Regions from separate parts of the Homo sapiens genome. Here regions 2 and 3 are each linked to region 1. The links are contacts of gene promoters, found by promoter capture Hi-C in blood cells and fetal thymus (Javierre and others, 2016). All regions are on one chromosome and are shown on one strand. The core of a region is centred on a gene start or on the middle of the fragment in contact, and the rest is flanking DNA. Distances in the headings are between cores, read along the strand shown. Region 1 holds the start of CDCA3 (cell division cycle associated 3). Region 2 overlaps CHD4 (chromodomain helicase DNA binding protein 4). Region 3 overlaps LTBR (lymphotoxin beta receptor).

What was found. Contacts are between HindIII fragments. The CHiCAGO score rates a contact against its expected background, and 5 or more counts as called.
Region 2: a fragment that was not itself captured here is called in contact with the fragment with the promoter of CDCA3 in region 1 in 3 of 17 cell types (activated CD4 T cells, fetal thymus and non-activated CD4 T cells); the score reaches 6.0 in activated CD4 T cells.
Region 3: a contact is called between a fragment that was not itself captured here and the fragment with the promoter of CDCA3 in region 1, in 1 of 17 cell types (monocytes). The highest score is 5.3, in monocytes.

The regions. Positions count from the first base shown.
Region 1 is chr12:6,849,538-6,853,931 of GRCh38, reverse strand. CDCA3 (cell division cycle associated 3) reads left to right here and starts at 2,646. Exons shown (of 6, transcript NM_031299.7): 1 at 2,646-2,710; 2 at 2,923-3,099; 3 at 3,336-3,465; 4 at 4,074-4,367. The coding sequence starts at 2,980. USP5 (ubiquitin specific peptidase 5) reads right to left here and starts at 1,782. Exons shown (of 20, transcript NM_001098536.2): 1 at 1,642-1,782. The coding sequence starts at 1,752. RefSeq lists silencers at 791-840, 1,811-1,920, 2,591-2,640 and enhancers at 1,121-1,760, 2,031-2,080, 1,184-2,144, 2,151-2,430. The HindIII fragment of the contact is 8,619 bases long and covers 1-4,394 here.
Region 2 is chr12:6,583,920-6,588,852 of GRCh38, reverse strand. It overlaps CHD4 (chromodomain helicase DNA binding protein 4), which reads left to right. Exons shown (of 40, transcript NM_001273.5): 23 at 431-555; 24 at 904-1,141; 25 at 1,294-1,469. CHD4-AS1 (CHD4 antisense RNA 1) reads right to left here. Exons shown (of 3, transcript NR_199067.1): 3 at 4,102-4,933. Among named protein-coding and RNA genes, the nearest start is that of CHD4-AS1, 18 kb to the right of the region's middle. The HindIII fragment of the contact is 7,516 bases long and covers 1-4,933 here.
Region 3 is chr12:6,389,749-6,394,579 of GRCh38, reverse strand. It overlaps LTBR (lymphotoxin beta receptor), which reads right to left. Exons shown (of 10, transcript NM_002342.3): 9 at 4,240-4,468; 10 at 3,014-3,920. The coding sequence ends at 3,643. Among named protein-coding and RNA genes, the nearest start is that of LTBR, 8.0 kb to the right of the region's middle. RefSeq lists an enhancer at 3,107-3,919. The HindIII fragment of the contact is 2,950 bases long and covers 300-3,249 here.

The DNA.
Region 1 (4,394 bases), core at 1,397-3,896:
TGTGATATGAAAAATAGTGCACTGTCTAAGGTAGTTCTTGGTCCCATAGATTGCTCTGTACCACTTCCTAGGAACAGTGTGTACTGCAAGTTCATGAACAAATAGAGCATTTCTCACCGGGGAGGTCAACTAAGCTCTTTCTACCATGAGCCCAATTTGAAGGTAACCAAATATGCTGGAAGTTGGTTAGCAAAGAACTAGGGCACACTGAAAATCTCTTGACTTGGGGTGAAAAAGGGAAAGTTTCAGAAGATTACAAAAACCCTTTTTGGATTATTCAAAGCAGTTACTAAGGAGAGAGACAGGAGTGAATAAAAGTGTAAAGAGGGACCCACTGACTTCTACCACCTGCTGGTAATTTAAGAAAAACCTTTCCCTCCTGGGAAGAATGTGGGAGCTCTGAAGTGATTAAACTCCTCTGTTGGAAATTAAAGATGCTGATTTCACCAAGGATTGGGAACCCCGGAGCTCTGCTCCGCGCAGTGCTCTTTTACCTCTGCCAAAGCCAGACTTCAGAGAAGCAGCACATTGTCTGAGGCCCAGATCAAAGCCTAGCAAACCAAGCAAACCACAAATCACAGTGATGATCCTGAACTGGGCCTCACATCATGCTGTTCTACTCAGTACTGGTGATGCAGTAATGAAGGCTTTCCACTCTGACTTGCAGTTTTCAGGCCATGAGCTGGTTCTGGCAGAATACACTGGGCAGGGCACAGCAGCTTGAGGGGAGGGGTGGTGAGGGGGGCGGATCCCAACCAAGCTGCTGCCTTCTCAGTTCAGGCCCCAAAGGGCCTCCGCTTGAGGGTGACATAGGGAAGGCAGAACTGCAGGAAGGGAGGTACCAGGTGGAGCCTGCAAAACGTGAAGCATGGTGTGGGAGGTGGCTTTGTGTAACTAGCCAAGAGTGGGAGCGGGATGGGAAAGAGGCCTTAGCATCCTCCGAGAAAGAAACCACCTCTCTAGGAATACTTTAAAAGGGGTTATCTCAGCTGTCTGTGATAGGCTGGGGGGCGGGGGGAAGGGTGGGGGCTGCGGCCATTGCTCACTTCAAAGGAGAAACGACTAGAGCTTTCCTCTCCTCTTTCCTCCCCTCCCCGCCCCCTGTCTGTTTTAACCACGGGGTGGAGGCTCTCTGCCTTTCTCAGAATCGGACTTCTTGAGAGTCCACTCCCAGACTATTAACCGCCTAGGAACTGCGGTCCCCACCCCCCAACTCCAACCCCGGCCGAGAACAGTGGGGAGTCGTCCCCATCACTCCTACACGAGACTACAAAACCCGGAGAGCCGTGCGCGGCAGACAAGGCCGACTGCCAGGTTTTCTCAAGGGTCCACTTGGGGGATGTAGTCCGACGGTCGGGCTGCGCCCCTAGCTTAGAACGGCAACGAAGGCAGTGAGTGACTACAATGCCCACAGTGCTCCACGAAGCGGGGAGCCGGAGAGGTGAGCGCGGCGGCTTCCGGGGACGGTAGTCACACGACAGCCGCAGTTAATGAAAGGCAACGGCAGAGTGGAGCGTGGGAGACTACAAGTCCCATGGTGCATCGCAGGGAGGCGGTAGCCCAAGCCTTGCAGGCCCCAGCGGAATGACCAGGGCGATGGAAGGAAGTCGTGCTCGTTGCGGGCGTGGGGAATGGGCTTACCGGCGTGTCGAAGGAGAAGGCGCACTCGTCTTTGTGGACCCGGTCTCCAGCCTTAGGGACCCGGATCGTCGGTAATACTGACAGCAGCGCCTCCTCACTCAGCTCCGCCATGACACCGGCAGCAGCTTCTCCACACACGGCGGCTCCCACCGTTCCCAGTCCCCTCCCCTGCCCCTCCCGTCCAATGAGCGCCACTCGTTAGGGGCATGCGCCGCGGAGACGACGCGCGAGAATGGCAGTTGGACGGAGCCTGCCTGCCGGTGCTCCGCCCCTGCCCCGCGCTTGACTGACGCCAATGAGAAGCGCTCCTAAGGCAATTGATGGTTGAAAGAACCAATCCCACTCCTCCAGGGCGGGAGCGCACGTAGAGCAGCTAGGTGGGCTTCGGGGTTGCAGCTGCTGCGGCTCCGCAGCTGCTCCGGCTCCGGGACCCTTAGAGTCCATTCGCGTGCCTTCTATTGAAGAGCAGGAACTGACGGTTGTTTTAGGCCTCTCAATTCCAGAAAGTTTCCTGGGGACCTGTCCGGTCGGAAAGTCGAGGGACAGTTGTCTTGGTATTTGTAAAGGGGGTATCCAGTGAGGCGGAGCTTGAGGGGGTTGTGTCGAGTGACTGATACAGCTGTCAACCAATAAAGCTACTATCGCTCGCCTCAGGAAAACCATCACAACTCCAGCTGGATGTGCGCATAATAGTGTAATCACTCATGATTCTATTTTGTTTAATAATTCGTTCTTGAGACTAGACGTCTCGAAAGCGAAGACTGGCACTCCTCAGCCTGCCACGGACGGCTCGCAGGCCGATACTGAACAGAAGTACCCTTATCAAGGAGGCGTCACCCCTGGGCAAGCCTAGCATCAGTCCATTGACACCTACAGTCACCATGATAGACGTTCTCCCAGACCAACAGCTTCCTTTGGCTCGAGGCGGGTCTTACGTGGAGGGCCTATGGGAACTACGTCGGCTCAGCCAATAGGGTCAGGGCAGGGGGCGTGGCGGGAAGTTTGAAACTGGTAACTTCGGGAGTTGAGCCACGAGCTGTTGTGCATCCAGAGGTGGAATTGGGGCCCGGTAAGTGATTTGAATAATTTAATAAATAAGTTAGAGGGCTCAGCAGGCCCAGAACGAGCCATTTTGTCAGCTGCAGCAGTCATTAACTCCGCAGAGGCCTCTGGTCCCTCGCCAGGAAGTTTCTTCACTGGAAACTGGGAAGACAGGGTGGTTTAGGGTTGAAGGTCCGACGTGGAAGAGATAAGGGCTGAGACCTGAGTCACTTCTCACAGGCATTCCCTCCTCGTCCCGGGCTGGCCCTTGCCCCCACCCTGCAACTCCTGGTTGAGATGGGCTCAGCCAAGAGCGTCCCAGTCACACCAGCGCGGCCTCCGCCGCACAACAAGCATCTGGCTCGAGTGGCGGACCCCCGTTCACCTAGTGCTGGCATCCTGCGCACTCCCATCCAGGTACTCTGGGCCAGCGTGGGAAAGGCAGAGAATGTCTGAATTCTTGGGTCTCTTCCTAACCTGATTTTGAGAGAGCCGTCATGACCCCACCCTTATCCTAGCCTTATTTTCTGCAATCTCAATCTGTGTGGGGTAGGCTGGATATCTGAGGGCCTTGGCAATTCCTTCCTGGAATATGGGGAGGAGAGGAGAGAAGAGTCAGGGCCCAGACTTGTTCTAGCCTATGGTCTTGACAGGTGGAGAGCTCTCCACAGCCAGGCCTACCAGCAGGGGAGCAACTGGAGGGTCTTAAACATGCCCAGGACTCAGATCCCCGCTCTCCTACTCTTGGTATTGCACGGACACCTATGAAGACCAGCAGTGGAGGTAAGCGTTGGGCCCAGGGAATGCTGATGAAGCTGTCATCTATTATTCTTGGGTAGGGTCCATGAAGCCATTCTCTCAGGGTTCCTTAAAGGGGCCTCTATCCTCCTGCTTCGGACCCATCTCACTCTTATCTCAATATTTTGTTCCCAGCCTGGGTGCGGTGGCTCATGCCTGTAATCCCAGCACGTTGGAAGGCCGGGGTGGTCAGATCGCTTGAGCCCAGGAGTTCAAGACCAGCCTAGGCAACATGGCAAAACCCCATCTCTAGAAAAAATACACACACATAACACACACACACACACACAAAAGCACGGTGGCATGGGCCTGTGATCCCAGCTACTCAGGAGGCTGAAGTGGGAGGATTGCTTGAGCCCACAAGGTCAAGGCTGCAGTGAACTGTGATCACGCCACTGCACTCCAGCCTGGGGGACAGAGCAAGCCCCATCTCAAAAAAAAAAAAAATTGCTCCCTTTCACCTTGATTTCCTTGATTTCTCTCTTCCCACTTGCTCACCCTCCTGGGCATGAGTCCTGGGTTTCTGTATGTTTTGCTCCTTGCTGAATGTTGTGTATCAGAAGGTCACTGTTCACTTCACTTTCTTCCTCTAGACCCCCCAAGCCCACTGGTGAAACAGCTGAGTGAAGTATTTGAAACTGAAGACTCTAAATCAAATCTTCCCCCAGAGCCTGTTCTGCCCCCAGAGGCACCTTTATCTTCTGAATTGGACTTGCCTCTGGGTACCCAGTTATCTGTTGAGGAACAGATGCCACCTTGGAACCAGACTGAGTTCCCCTCCAAACAGGTGTTTTCCAAGGAGGAAGCAAGACAGCCCACAGAAACCCCTGTGGCCAGCCAGAGCTCCGACAAGCCCTCAAGGGACCCTGAGACTCCCAGATCTTCAGGTACAGAATCTAAGGCAAGATGCAGGG
Region 2 (4,933 bases), core at 24-2,523, 260 kb after region 1:
CTGCCTCAGCTTCCTGAGTAGCTGGGACTACAGGCGTGTGCCACCATTCCCAGCTAAATTTTTTTTTTTTTTTGAGATGGAGTTTCTTGCTCTGTTGCCCAGGCTAAAGTGCAGTGGTGCAATCTCTGCTCACTGCAACCTCTGCCTACCAGGTTCAAGCGGTTCTCCTGCCTCAGTCTCCTGAGTAGCTGGGATTACAGGTGTATACCACCACGCCTGGCTAATTTTTGTATTTTTAGTAGAGACAGGGTTTCACCGTGTTGGCCAGGCTGGTCTCGAACTCCTGATGTCAAATGATCCACCTGTCTCTGCCTCCCAAAGTGCTGAGATTACAGGCATGAGCCACTGCCCCCGGCTTAATTTTTTAAACTACATTTATGAATTGGAATTTAGGAGACACTTCTAATGGTGTTTTTGGTTCTTTTATTAGCACCGGGTGCTCAGCAGTTCTGCTTCTTGCTTTCCACTCGAGCTGGGGGCCTTGGAATCAATCTGGCCACTGCTGACACAGTTATTATCTATGACTCTGACTGGAACCCCCATAATGACATTCAGGTGAGCAGAGGCAGCAGGCAGCCTTAATAAGTAACATGTTATGCTAGAAAGGCATAGTGGCCTCTATGAGGGCTCCACCATCTGGAATTAGGTTTTTAAGTGAGAAACAACAGATTCTTTTTGTGTTGTTTACCTTATTGTAAGCCAGAGTTTGGTTAGCTGTGATCCTATTTTGGGTAACATGATAATAGAGGGTGGTGTCTGGAGGCAGGGGTGCAAAAGGAAGTTTCCTATGAATGTAGGCTGTGGACCTTGCCTTGTACTGAATTTAGAATATTATGTGGAAGTCAGGATAAGAGTGGCACCAGGAAAATACAATTTCTGGCTTTATTTCCTGTTCAACTCCAGGCCTTTAGCAGAGCTCACCGGATTGGGCAAAATAAAAAGGTAATGATCTACCGGTTTGTGACCCGTGCGTCAGTGGAGGAGCGCATCACGCAGGTGGCAAAGAAGAAAATGATGCTGACGCATCTAGTGGTGCGGCCTGGGCTGGGCTCCAAGACTGGATCTATGTCCAAACAGGAGCTTGATGATATCCTCAAATTTGGCACTGAGGAACTATTCAAGGATGAAGCCACTGATGGAGGTGAGGTAGTCAGGAACTTACGTTTTGGTGTGGGGCTTGGCCTCTCTAAAGGTTAGGGAGAATCTTTGATACCAAGGGTCTTGTGGGACTTGCTTTTTCCACTGCAGCTGCTGAAACTGACTTTGGGGATGTGGGCCCTTGATTTTTTATAGGAGGAGACAACAAAGAGGGAGAAGATAGCAGTGTTATCCACTACGATGATAAGGCCATTGAACGGCTGCTAGACCGTAACCAGGATGAGACTGAAGACACAGAATTGCAGGGCATGAATGAATATTTGAGCTCATTCAAAGTGGCCCAGTATGTGGTACGGGAAGAAGAAATGGGGGTGAGTATGAATCCAAGGCAATCCTGTGCTTGGTAATTGGTCTGAAAATTGGCATTGAGACCAAGGTGGTATTTGAGACAAGTGGAAAATATCTGTAGGCAAATTCTTATGTTGATGAATTGATCCTCTTCCTTTGAAAACAAAGCTGATAACATGACTAATCAGATTTTCATCTTTGCCTTGGTTGTCAGAAAACTTACAACCAAATATCATGCTCACAACAGTTATTTTGGCTCTTTACCAGAATGTCATTTTCTCCTATGTGTTTTATTAAACCTTACAAATGAAATTTTGAATGCTACCTCATCTCTCTAGAGAAAAGGCAGAAGATCCTAGGTAATCTATCTCTTTGTGTTTTCTGGTTTTTATTTAAGAGACAGGGTCTCTACCAGGTGCAGTGGCTCACATCTGTAATCCCAGCACTTTGGGAGGCCGAGGCAGGCAGATCACTTGAGGCCAGGAGTTTGAGACCAGCCCGGCCAACACGGTGAAACCCCGTTTCTACTAAAAATAAAAAAATTAGCCAGGCACGATGAAGCACACCTGTAGTCCCAGGTGTTCGGGAGGCTGAGGCAGGAGAATTGCTTGAACCCAGGAGGCGGAGGTTGCAATGAGCTGAGATTGCGCCACTGCATTCCAGCCTGATGACAGAGCCAGACTGTGTTTGAAAAAAAAAAACAACAAAAAAAGAGACAGGGTCTTGCTCTGTCACCCAGGCTAGAGTGCAGTGGCACAATCATAGCTGAGTGCAACCTTAAACTCTTGGGCTGAAGAGTGACCCTAGTAGATGTGTGCTACCACACCTGGTTAATTTTTTAAATGTTTTTAGAGATGTCTTGCTATGTTGCCCAGGATGGTCTTGAACTCCTGGCCTTAAGCAGTTCTCCTGCCTTGACCTCCCAAAGTGCTGGAATTACAGGTGTTAGCCACCACACCAGGCCTCCTTGTGTATGTATGTATGTATGTATTTATTTATTTATTTTGAGATGGAATCTCACTCTCTCCCCCAGGCTGGAGTGCAGTGGTGCGATCTTGGCTCACTGCAAGCTCTGCCTCCCGGGTTCATGCCATTCTTCTGCCTCAGCCTCCCGAGTAGCTGGGGACTACAGGTGCCTGCCTCCACACCCAGCTAATTTTTTTTGTATTTTTAGTAGAGATGGGGTTTCACTGTGTTAGCCAGGATGGTCTCGATCTCCTGACCTTGTGATCCACCCACCTCTGCCTCCCAAAGTGCTGGGATTACAGGCGTGAGCCACTGCCCCTGGCCTTATATATTTTTTTTTTGATACGGAGTCTTGCTCTGTTGCCCAGGCTGGAGTTCAGTGGTGCGATCACAGCCTACTGCAACCTCCACTTCCTGGGTTCAAGCAATTCTCCTGCCTCAGCCTCCCAAGTAGCTGAGATTACAGGTATGCACCACCATGCCCGGCTAATTTTTTTATAGTTTTAGTAGAAACGGGGTTTCACCATGTTGGCCAGGATACTCTAGAACTCCTGACCTCAAGTGATCCGCCTGCCTCGGCCTCCCAAAGTGGTGGGATTACAGGCATGAGCCATTACGCCTGGCCTCTTTGTGTGTGTGTTTTTTTTTTTTTGAGACAGAGTCTTGCTTTCCCGCCCAGGCTGGAGTGCAGTGGCATGATCTCGGCTCACTGCAACCTCCGCCTCCCGGGTTCAAGCAGTTCTCTTGCCTCAGCCTCCCGAATAGCTGGGACTACAGGCACGTGCCACCACACCCAGCTAATTTTTTGTATTTTTAGTAGAGATGGGGTTTCACCATGTTTTTTTAAAGATTAGAATTGGGCCAGACGTGGTGGCTCACGCCTGTAATCCCAGCACTTTGGGAGGCCAAGGCGGGTGGATCACGAGGTCAAGAGATCGAGCCCATCCTGGCTAACACGATGAAACCCCGTCTCTACTAAAAATACAAAAATTAGCTGGGCGTGGTGGCGGGCGCCTGTAGTCCCAGCTATTCGGGAGGCTGAGGCAGAGAATCACTTGTACCTGGGAGGCAGAGCTTGCAGTGAGCCAAGATTGCCCCACTGCACTCCAGCCTGGGGGACAGAGCCAGACTCCGTCTCAAAAAGATTAGAATCGGTATATACCTTTTTATTCTCCTCCCTTCTTTTTCTTGGTCTTTTATAGTAAAAAAAATAGTATGTGAGGAATGTGTGTGTGGCTTGTTTTAATGTTTTTCTCTCCTAAATGATATAGAGGGGTATGAAATGGAAAAATAAAATTTCCTTTTTCTTGTCCTCTGTAAACCACTCAGCTCCGGGTTCTTTCAGTTGGCATTGGTTCTGGTGGTCTTTGTCATCTTTTCTCATTCTTCCACCTCAGAACCATCCCCCTTGCTGTGTTTCCCTGATGCTTACCTGTGATTTTGTTCTCGAAGGTAATGCGTCCAACCTCAGTTTATATGTAAGTGTGGCTGAATGGTCTGACATAGGTCTGTGTACCGTAGTGTTCAATCAGAAACGACCCTATTGATAGAATGCTCACATTCCTTTCAGTGGCAGTGAATGTAATAGAAGTGATTGATGGGAGAGCACATGCTAAGTGGATCATCCTTGCTGGTGACTACATAAGTATACAAATTGTTCTTTGATTAGTGACTATAGCTGCTGTTGACTTCTTTTAAAATATTTTTAAGTTTTATTTTTAATAGATAGAATTTACATAGTTCAAAATACACAAAAGGGCCAGACACGGTGGCTCATGCCTAGAATCCCAGTACTTTGGGAGGCTGAGGCAGGAGGGTCGTTTGAGCCCAGGAGTTGGAGACCAACTTGGGCAACATGGTAAAATTCCGTCTCTAAATAATAAAAACATTAGCCGAGTGTGGTTGCTCACGCTTGTGGTCCCAGCTGCGTGGGAGGATTGCTTAAACTTGGCAGTCGAGGCTGCAGTGAGCCGTAATGACGCCACTCTACTCCAGCCTGGGCAACACAGCTAGACCCTCTCTCAAAAAAATATATATATATTTATATGTACACACACGTATCTCTTTTCTCTCCTGTCCTCTAACAATTTAGTTCCCTTCTTGGGGACAACTAATGTTTTCAGTTCCTTTTATATCTTTCCAAAAATATTTTATGTGTATACAAATTATACATATATTCATACACATATATGTACACTCACATATATGTACCCAAAGACTTTTTTTTCCTTGTAAACATAAAAGTAATACCAATGCAATGTAAATGCTACATTGGTTAGGGAATAATGACAAGAAAAAAGTCTGTAAATGTTGAGTACAGACATAATTTTGTTTTTTCTCTGAATATTTTCCATCTATGGTTGTTTGAATCCACAGGTGCGGAACCCGTGGATACAGAGGGCCGATTGTAATTTATTTAATTAGTTCCATAATGATGGGCTTTTAGGTTGTTTCTAATGTTATGCTATTAGCAGCTGTTTAATTCCAATATAAGGGATGTGGAATCAGTGAGTGGTCCTCA
Region 3 (4,831 bases), core at 525-3,024, 460 kb after region 1:
CGCTTTATCTTTTGAAAAGGGAAGTTCTTACTGACCCTTGTTGGGCTGACCCTGCCGGTACTCACAGTGCTTCCTGCGGGAAAAGACTAGAGTGAGTCTCCTGTGAAGTCTCAGACTGGTGGGGAAGCCGAACGCCCACCTCCCATCCACTGTGTCCACTGGAGAAACCGAGCATCCAGGGACTCCTCTGCGTGTGGCACTGTGCGGGCTTGGGGAGGAGTGGCGTGGTCAGAAAGCAGCCATCCCCTTACCGTCCTCATGGTTTTTCTTGGCTCTGCCATCCCAGGGGATGCAAAGCTTCACTCCAAGTTCTGGGATATTCAGGGTGGTAAACTTGCCACAGGATTGTTGCTAGTTGAAATTCTGTTGGGGAGGAGAGAAGCCGGAGAACTCCTACTTTGACATTGTGTTGATGCCACTCTCAAAAAGGGAAATTCTGAATTACCCCATCCTCCCCCATCTCCCTGTGCTACTGCTCTGTCCCCAGTTCCATCCACCTTTCTTCTGGACTACAGCCTTGGCCCCCTAACGGGTGTCCCACCCCCGTGTTGATGTGGGTTGGACTTGGTGTTAGCTTTCTCCTCCCTGTGGTAGAGGATTAGGGTTCTCACAACCAACAGTTACCCCATTGTCAACTGCCATTGCATCCTGTTGCATCTTTTGAAGACCACCATCAAGAGGCTGTCTTTGTTGGTTTTCTGCCAGCTTTTCCTTGTAGACAGGAGCTCCCCTCTACGTGGCCTGTGCTCTGTGGATGTGTCCTGGAGCCTGTACTGACTCCACACTGGCAAAATAGACATGGGTAATGCTGTGGGTGGAACTGTGTCTCCCTCCAAAATCCACGTGCTGAAGCCCTAACTCCCAGGACCTCAGAATGGGGCCTTATTTGGAGACAGGGGCTTTAAAGAGGTGACTAAGTTAAAATGAGGTCATCAGGATGGGCCCTAATCCACTAAGAGAAGATTAGGACACACTCATGCACAAAGGCAAGACCATGTGAAGACATAGGTGGCAGGAAGGCCACCATTAGCAGGCCAAGGACAGAGGCCTCAGAGGACACCAACCTTGCCAACACGTTGACCTCTGACTTCCAGCCTCCAGAGCTGTGAGAAGATAAATCTCTGCAGCTTAAGCTATCGAGTCTGCAGTACTTTGTTATGGCGGCCCTAGAAAATTAATTTAGGCAGCCCAGGTGCAGTGGCTCATGCCTGCAATCTCAGCTCTTTGGGAGGCTGAGGTGGGAGGATCACTTGATCCCAGGAGTTTGAGACCAGCCTGGACAACATAGCAAGACCCCACTTCTTAAAAAAGAAATTAAAAAAAAATTAGCCAGGTGTGGTGGCACGCATCTGTAGCTCTAGCTACGTGGGAGGCTGAGGTAGGAAGATCATTTGAGTCTAGGAGCTGAGGCTATATGAGCCACGATTATACCACTGCACTCAAGCCAGGGCGACACAGTAAGACCCTGTCTCTAAAAAAATACAGGCAGGTATAATTATAAATTTGAATGGTGTCACAAAGGGCTGTGCTTCAGCATCATTTCTTTCAAAATATTTTCCTCCTTTTATTTTGTTGAAAAAAATGTATAAAATTTGTTTTTTATCTAAACACATTAGAACAATTATTAAGAATTCATGAGGTCTGGCCCCAGCATATTGCAGGGGCAGGAGGATTTAACTTTATTTAAAGATACAGCTCACCATTATTTACTTTTCAAAAAAGGAAGTTGGATGTGATATTTTCACAGTCAACCTTAAATGACCCATCCACTCCATTGGATCAGACGCCTTCTGAGGTGTGTGTTTTGCAGCCGCCCCACCCTGATGAGCTCCAGCGACAGAGTTCCTCATATCAGACCCATGAGAGTGGCCTTTTATGGAAGGAGCAGCCGGCTGGCAGCAGCTCCCTAACAATCCTGCAAGCTAAGATCCTCTCGACCGAGCACAGGAGAGAATTCAGGGGCAGGGAGGGGCAAACATTTACTAATAAGAGGGCTTGAGAAGATTTAAAGTCCTTTTTGGGGGTAAAAATAAAAGAAGACAAAAAGAAACCAAAAAAGTAAAAATCATAAATACTCTTTCTGAACCAAAAGGAGGCCAGCCTAGATTTCTGTTCACCAACAAAATGTGAACTTGGCCTCTCTCATTTTATGTCTAAAGTGCACACCTCAGGTCAGGCACGGTGGCTCTCACGCCTGTAATCACTGCATGTTCAGAGGCCAAGGCAGGAGGATTGCTTGAGCCCAGGAGTTCGAGACCAGCCTGGGCAACACAGGGAGACCTGATCTCTACTAAAAATACAAAAAATTAGCTGGGCGTCGTGGCACACACCTATAGCCCCAGCTACTTGGGAGGCTGAGGTGGGCGGATCCCTTGAGCCAGGAGTTCAAGGTTGCCATGAGCCATAATAGTGCCACTGCACAACAGCCTGAGTGACAGAATTAGATCCTGTCTCAAAAAAAAAAAAAAAAATTGCACACATTTCCCTTCAATCAACCTTGGAGAACATTTTTCACTTCGCGTGTGGCTAGATGTTTGAGAGTTGACTGAAAAGTAACACCTGCGGAACATGCAAGAGATCTGATTATTTGAGAAGGCCAGACCATTCTACCCGTTCAAAGAAATTCTGGAAGGGCGTGGTATATGAAGGCTTTTTTTTCCCCAAGAGGCCTCTAAAAGCCAGACGAACTAGGTGCAAATCCCAGCTTTGTCATTTGCAGCTGAATTGGGAAAGTTACCGCTCTGTGCCTCAGTTTCCTCATTTGTTAAATGGGAATCATATCTACCTTAGGGAGTTATTGTGAAGATTAAGTAAGTTAGTACTGTAAAGCATTGAGAACACTGCCTGGCACGTTGTCAGCCATCACTGACGAGACTGTTATTACCTGGACTATACTCACCAGCTCCTCACTGAAATATCTTTATGGGATTATATTTTAGTGTCTTGACCTTTGTCTTTGAGATTGTCTCCATGGAATAGTGTTTCTGTATAAATCCCAAGAAAATAAATTATCTAGGTCCCATTCTTTTTATTTGCATGTGGTTACAATATAAATACACTTGCCATTTTCCTCCCCTTCCAAAACTCTTCCCCATACCTAGGAATCCTACCCAACCCCCTAGTTGTTAATGACTCCCTTTCCTCTCCTCTAGGAGGGGAGGGAAGGAGCGTCCTCCCTATAATTTCATCTTCATGCAGGGTCTACCTCAGTCCACGTGAAGTGTGGAACCCCAAAGGGTCTCTGAAGCTTGGGGATGAGCACCACGAATCCTTTAGAGGGGCCCGTGACGTCCTTGCAGGTGACCGTGTGGCGGCTCCCTCGGTGCCGTGCTCCGGTGCGGCGTGCCGTAGTGGGCAGCAGTTGGTATCATGTGCCCTGTCCGTGCCTGAGGCTGAGCAGCCCCAGGGGGTGGGTGGGTCTGCCGGGAGGCCTCAGGTTTGCTCAGGCAGTAGGGAGAGTCCTGTGGAGGGCACCGTACCCAGCCAGTGCCCACCTGCTCTCAGAGGTGTCTGAGCCTTAATCCCTTAGGGCTCTGCTTCCCCGGGCCCTACTCAGGCCCCTGTGAATCCCACGTGGGCAGGGCAGCCTCAAGGGAGAAGGTGCCCTTGTGCCCCCCTTCTTCTGCCTTTTCTCAGACTCAGTCAGTCATGGGTGATAAATTGGTTCCTTGGGCCCCTGTTAGAGGGTGTGGCACCACAGTGCTCTGTCTCCGCTAGGTGCCAAGCCTTGCCATCTTCCTGGTGGGGTGTAGAGAGCCCGGGAGGGCCAGGGTCCCCCTCTTCGGGAATGGGGTATGGAGGTTCGGGGGTAGCTGGGAGGTCTCCAGGACCCGGTGGTCCCCCCAGTACTGGTCCATTGTAGATGTAGATGTTGCCAGTGATAGTCATAGACCCGCCGGTGACATGAATGCCATTGGTACCTGTAGGAAGGGAGGCAGAGTGTTGAGGAAGGAAGGCCCCCAGTTCAGGCCCGCTGCTTCTTGAATTCTTGCCTTCTTCTCGCCTTTCCCCTGGCCCCGCCCCTCTCCTGCTTGCTGCTGGTTTATTGAGCTTCTGTGTTCATTTCTCTGCTTCTGGGTTTTCCAGTCTCTTCCCTCTTCTCTAGTTGTGACACTGACTGGCAGCGGAGTCTCTGTCTGCCTCTGTTTTGGTCTTTTTATTTCATCTGGCCCACAGTCTCTCCCTGCCAGCCATCCCTCCCTCCCCATCCTTCCTCTCTTCTCCCTGCCCCAGGCTCACCGTGGGCCACCTGGCTCTGCTCCCCGGGTTCCAACTGCGGCTCCCTGGTCAGGTCCAGAGGACTCTGCTGTTGCGGCACCCCTGCCTCCAAAACTGGGGCTGCGGGGAGCCCAGTGGATACTGGGGAAACATCTCCAGAAATGGGTAGCAGTGGCTGTACCAAGTCAGGGAAGTATGGATGGGCCTTCGGAGGCTCCCAGCTTCCAGCTACAGGATTGGGTCCCTCTCCCTGCAGGAAAGAGATGGAGACCCAAACAATGATGAGGGCCCCAGACCCTTTTTTCTCTCTCCCTCCCTCCCTCTTCTTTCTCTCTTTCTCTTTCTTTCTTTCCTTCCTTCCTTTCTCTCTCTCTCTCTCTTTCTCTCTCTCTCTTTCTTTCTTTCCAGACAGGGTCAGGGTCTGTCACCCAGGCTACAGTGCAGTGGTGCAATCATAGCTCACTGCAGGCTCATGAACTCTTGGACTCAAGTGATCCTCTAGCCTCAGCCTCCTGAGTAGCTGGGACTGTCTGGCTAACTTTTTTTTTTTTTTTTTTTTGAGACAGAGTCTCACTCTGTCACCCAGGCTGGAGTGCAGTGGCATAATCTCAGT